Linked DNA regions of Homo sapiens: region 2 is linked to region 1. Evidence: promoter capture Hi-C in 16 types of primary human blood cells and fetal thymus (Javierre and others, 2016). All regions are on one chromosome and are shown on one strand. Each heading gives the region's core, a stretch centred on a gene start or on the middle of the fragment in contact. The rest is flanking DNA. Distances are from core to core; before and after follow the strand shown.

Region 1 (2,700 bases), core at 1-2,500:
TGTCTCTCTGTCATGCAGAGGAGCTGTAGTTCAGTTTTTGTTTTTTGTTTATTTTACGGAGCACATTTAAAGTATAGTCTTCCTTGTCAGGAGATTCCTGGCACTAAAGAGATGGACGGGAAACTTAACCGCCTCCTCCAGATCGTCCACTATTGCATCATTTGAAACCAAAGCCTTCTAAAGGCAGCGACTCGCACAATTCAAGTCAGGTAAGATGGCAGGAACAGCAGCTGTGGGTGCTGGCTGCTGCTGGAGCCTCGGTCTCAACTTCAAGAGCAGGGAGAGCGCTGTCTCTGGAGTTGCCAGGTGCTGAAATGAATAGTCAATAAATCAACAGGTCCGGCGCGCTAGCCCCTGGGTGCTCAGGCCCGGGCGCGCCACGACTGAAGGAGTGGCTAATTACTCAAACACAGTTGAAACCAAAGGAGGCCGGAGTCGGTTCTCAAAGTGGTTTCCCTCCGGCCACCACCGACTCTGAGGACCTGCTAGGGGAAGTGTCCCGGCCCCGTGGAGGGAGAGGGAAGCACCACAGCCTGGGCTGCGGCTCTAGCCCTCCAGCCCCAGCCCCTGGCAGCCCTGCCCTGCTGTCGCGGCAGGTACCCCTCTACTCATTGTTCCTCAGGCTGCCCCCTCTTTTCATCAATCGTAAGCCTTTCGGTTCTGCCACCAGGAAACTTCCATAGAAGGTGAGATTCCCAGGTCGAGGGATGATTCCACGAACACCCAGAGAGCCAGTGCCAGGACTTCAGGGTCAGACTTCGTAAAGCCCAGGCGTCGCTGGGCCGGCCCGGAACAGCTCAGAGCTGCGGGTCCTATGGTCCCGCGCCCTCACGCCCATCCAAGTGCTGGCAGGACGTGGGTCCTCCATCCCCACGACTCGCGGGGCCGGCGCTCCGAACCTCGGCACTGCGTCCGCTCCGCGCGCCGCAGGGACCCTCCTAGCTCCAGCGGGGACAGACCTACCAAGGCCGGGCGCCCCCACCCGGCGCCCGCCAGCCCACCCCAGAGAGGGGACCAAGGGGGCGGGGCCTCGGCCGTCCTAGCCGGGCTCACTCTTCTCTCCCGGACTCCTGTCCAGGGCTTCAGGGGCCGGGCCCGCAATCCCCATCGGATCGTACCTCGTCCGCTTCCAGCTCCGCTCGGCTGCCTAAGAGCGCCATATTCCTCCTCTGGCTGCTGCCACCCAAAAACCAAGCAGGGAACTCAGAGCCGACTCCTGCTCTCGGCTCTGGGCTCAGCCCAGCGCAAAGGAGGGCAAAAGGGGACGGCCCGGCGCTCCCTCCGGGTCTCGGGCGGGGCCTGAGTGCAGCTACTCGATTTCCCCGCCCCCGGAGCCGGCAGGCCAGCACAGCATCCATTTCCTCCCCGGACGCCGCGCCGCTGGCCGGGCCACTTGCCCGGCCCCCAGCGGGCGGCAGCCCCGCCCAAGTGGGTGGAGTCACCTCCCAGATAAAGTTTCCCGGTCTGGCACGCCCTCTGGGAGGGTTTCCTAAGCTTTCCTGCCGCCTGTTCTCTGCGGTGGCTGGGCACACCTGGAAAGAAGCTAGAGAGCGCGGGCATGACGAAGCCAAGGTCAAAGCAGCGCCCCACCTGGGGTCCGTGGAAGCATCCACCTGGTCTTTGGTCCGGTGCCAGTCCTTTTCCCTCGCCAGGTGGCCACCGCATCTCGCAGATGGTGTGGCCTGAGGGCAGCCTTGGGTCACGGTCACTGGTCCCCGAGAGGCCTCTGACACACCACCCACCTGGACTGTAGGTGGAAGGACTCTGCTTGCTTCTGTGTTCAAAAAATAGAAAAAAACGCGGGACAGAGATTTATACATATTGGAACTCCTCTACTTCCCCCTACCCGGACAGTGTATTCTCCCCATAGCATCCTGTATTTTGTAACTCCAAACATAGGTGTATAATTCGTGCTTGAACTATAAACTCCATGGGGGTAGGATGCTATCTGTCCTCTTCAAGACTGTATCCCCAACACCCAGAACAGTGTCTTGCACATCGTAGGTGCTCAACAGATATTTGTTGGCTGAGTTTAGAAACTGAACCTTGCTTCTGACATGTAAAATAACTGGAAAATTAAAAGCTAGATCTTTAAGAGTTTGGGGGAGAGAGGTCAGATTTACTTTACATACAGAAAAATGCACCAAGTTAAATGTGTGATTCAGTGACAAGTGTTTACAAAGCATCCCAGTCATAATATAGAACATCCTGAAAAGTTTTCTGTGACCCTTTGCTGTCAATTTCCTACCTCCGCTCCCTAGCCTCTGTCAATCACTGATCTGCTATCAACATCGATTTGCCTTCTCTAGAATTTCATATAAATTTAATTAGAGCATGTGGTCTTCCATGTCTGGCTCATGAAAGGCTATTTAATAGTCATCCAGTGATAACTGTAAAAACAGCTAATAGTTCTTGAGTCCTTACTATGTGCCAGGACTCTACTGAACCTCTTGCATATAGTATTTCATTTATTCTTCATAACCCCATAAAGTAGGGTGCTGTTCTCTTTCAGATGAGTAAACTGAGGCTCAGAGAGTTCAAGTAATATGCCTGAGGCCAGACAGCAGTTAAGTAAGTAGGGATGCCAGCATCTGAACCCCAGCAGTCTAACTCTAGGGCCTAGCTGATAACCATTGCTTTGTACTGTACTGGCTCTAGCCACCCTCCCTCTCTTTCTTTCTGTGTCAGTAGAGCAGTTGT
Region 2 (2,700 bases), core at 152-2,651, 600 kb before region 1:
TCTGGGAAAGGAGATGAAAAGGCAGAAGGAGACAGTACTTCTTCACTTTGCTCAGGTGAAGAGAATGTTGAATACAGAAATGAATCTCCAAGTCCTTCAAGGAAAATCCTGGTACCAAAAGTAACAAAAGAAATACTTTCTGTTATATCTTATGGCTCCAAAACACTTTATAGAATTAACTTTTGTTGGTTTACAAATATACTATAATAATTCAACATACCTGCTTTGAGTTCATTGTACCTACACCTAATAAATGGGAAAATTTAGGCCACCTGGAATTTCACCTTTTGACACATCGTGGGAAGCCTCAGCCTTAGGTGATAAAAAACATGGTTCACATGGATGCAACAGCAAATAGAGATGCGTGAGAAAATCCCATAGGCAATACGGGCTCAAAGTGTGGTGATGAATGGCCTGAGGCAAGCAAACACTATCAAAGAATTCAGTGGAATCAATGGTAAAAGATTGACCAACTACTTAGAAGACACTGACCACATGTGGGATTTATTAACTACCTATGCTGCTTCAGGTAGCAAGACCTACCAAACTCACACATATCTACATATTCTTTGTCAAGGAGTAAGTTGCACTACAACTGCATTACAAAAACAAAAAAGTCACTTCCAAATTCATATCTGCTCTAGCAGGCAACCTTCTTACTAACTCCTCTGTCTTCTTTCCCACTTTTTGCTGTTTGGGAAGAACCTGGAGATAAAACTCTACAAAACCACATAGGCAAATAACGACATGGGGTCAACCTCAGGTTTAGAAAACCCTGCCCCCAGAAATCATCCCCAGGCCTGGATTTGTGAAAGCCAGCATTCTGAGAGACTCTTTCCTAAAACCATCTGATCACAGTTGTACTGTCATTTATTAATTACCACGGGAACCACCAACTGTCATCATGAAATCTTTTATAGGCATACTGTAAATATTAAAAGAGCATATTAAAGTTATACCATATGCAGCAGCAGCTGATGCTATTTTATGAAGACAATATTAGAGAGTATGCAGAATTATCACACTACAACGCCCATGATCTCTATTTCTTACAGCTGCCCTGGAGCATGACGCTGGGCCACAATTTTAACTCTTTAATCACAGAGGGGAGTAATTTGACTGATCATTTACACTGAAGCAAACTTTATCACTTAAACCAGGGTATATAGTTAATTACATGGATGCCTTTTTGTACATTCACCAGTCAACTTTTTATTATGAAAATGAGAGCAGGAGGATTTTCTTTGAAGTTTCCTAGGGAAGGAAAGAGTGTTTCCCCTGTCTTATAGTTGAAATCAGTGTGTAGGAGTGGCTCCTAGAAGCCACATGACCTATCTGCGTTAGCTTAGACTGTGTGTCAAGTGCAGTGGCCATTCTGGCAAGATAGCACATTTGTCTGATGAACTTTGTGAAGTCAACCCAAAGCTAACTTGAGGCTTATTTGGGTTGTCTCATAAGACCTGCTGCTTGCTCCCCCAAAATCTTCCCCATTGGTCTGTCACAATATCTGAAACTTGTCCCACTGTACTTGAGAGAGAGACAACTAGGTCTAGAATCTTCTGTTAAAATGCAAAATATAGATGATAGTTTGGAAATACTGTTAATTATCTTAGGAGTGATTATAGTATTCTAATTATATAGGAGGATATTCTTATTCTTAGGAGATGCATGCTGGAGTATTAAAGTGGAAGTGTCAGCCAGGCGCAGTGGCTCATGCCTGTAATCCCAGCACTTTGGGAGGCTGAGGCAGGCGGATCATGAGGTCAGGAGTTCGAAAACAGCCTGGTCAACATAGTGAAACCCCCATCTCTACTAAAAAAAATACAAAAAATTAGCTGGGCATGGTGGCAAGTGCCTGTAATCCCAGCTACTCAGGAGGCTGAGGCAGGAGAATCGCTTGAACCCGGGAGGCGGAGGTTGCAGTGAGCCAAGATCGCACCATTGCCCTCTAGCCCAGGTGACAGTGCAAGACTCCGTCTCAAAAAAAAAAAAAAGTGGAAGTGTCTTGATATTTGAAATTTACTTTCACATGTTCAAACAATACAGAAATATGTAGTGAATACACATATACACTCATTCATACAAGTTGAGATATAAAGCAAATATGACAAAATGCCAACAAATTGTTGAATTAAGGTAGAATGTATAGAAGTATTTTTGGTACTTTTTTTCAGCTTGGTTTTAAAATCTTCATGACTAAAAAGGGAAAAAAACTCAGATATCTGAGCATACCCCCAAACCCACTGAATCAGCATCCTTGGGTATGGAACCCAGAAAGAGGCATTGCCAGTAAGTGCCTGAAGTAAGTTTTAGGGCCAATAATAGTTGAAAATTATTGAATTATAATGCTAAATACTGATGGAAGAATAAGTGTAATGACTACGTGATAAAAAGTGCAACTTAGAAGAAGGATGGAGCAAGATGGTAGAGTAGTACTCTCCAGTGATTGTCCCCCAACAGAGACATCAATTTGAACAACTACCCACATGCAAAAATACCTTCACAAGGGCTAAGAAAAACATATGAGAGATCACAGTGCCTGGTTGTAGCACAAAAATAAGAAAAGATACATTGAAGAGGGTAGAAAGGAGAGTTTTACATTACCTGTGTCACCCCTTCCCAACTCCAAGCAGCATAGCACAGAGACAGATACTGTCCACTTAGGGGAAAGAGAGGTAAATGAACTTAGGACATTCTCCC

Evidence for each region. The method cuts DNA at HindIII sites, captures the fragments that hold promoters and counts their contacts. A CHiCAGO score of 5 or more calls a contact.
Region 2: a fragment that was not itself captured here is called in contact with the fragment with the promoter of TTC39B in region 1 in 1 of 17 cell types (total B cells); the score reaches 5.2 in total B cells.

The regions. Positions count from the first base shown.
Region 1 is chr9:15,305,966-15,308,665 of GRCh38, forward strand. TTC39B (tetratricopeptide repeat domain 39B) reads right to left here and starts at 1,251. Exons shown (of 20, transcript NM_152574.3): 1 at 1,119-1,251. The coding sequence starts at 1,160. RefSeq lists enhancers at 1-452, 1,016-1,578 and silencers at 816-1,135, 1,166-1,505. The HindIII fragment of the contact is 2,405 bases long and covers 1-1,492 here.
Region 2 is chr9:14,701,489-14,704,188 of GRCh38, forward strand. No RefSeq gene overlaps it. Among named protein-coding and RNA genes, the nearest start is that of ZDHHC21, 9.4 kb to the left of the region's middle. The HindIII fragment of the contact is 4,992 bases long and covers 1-2,700 here.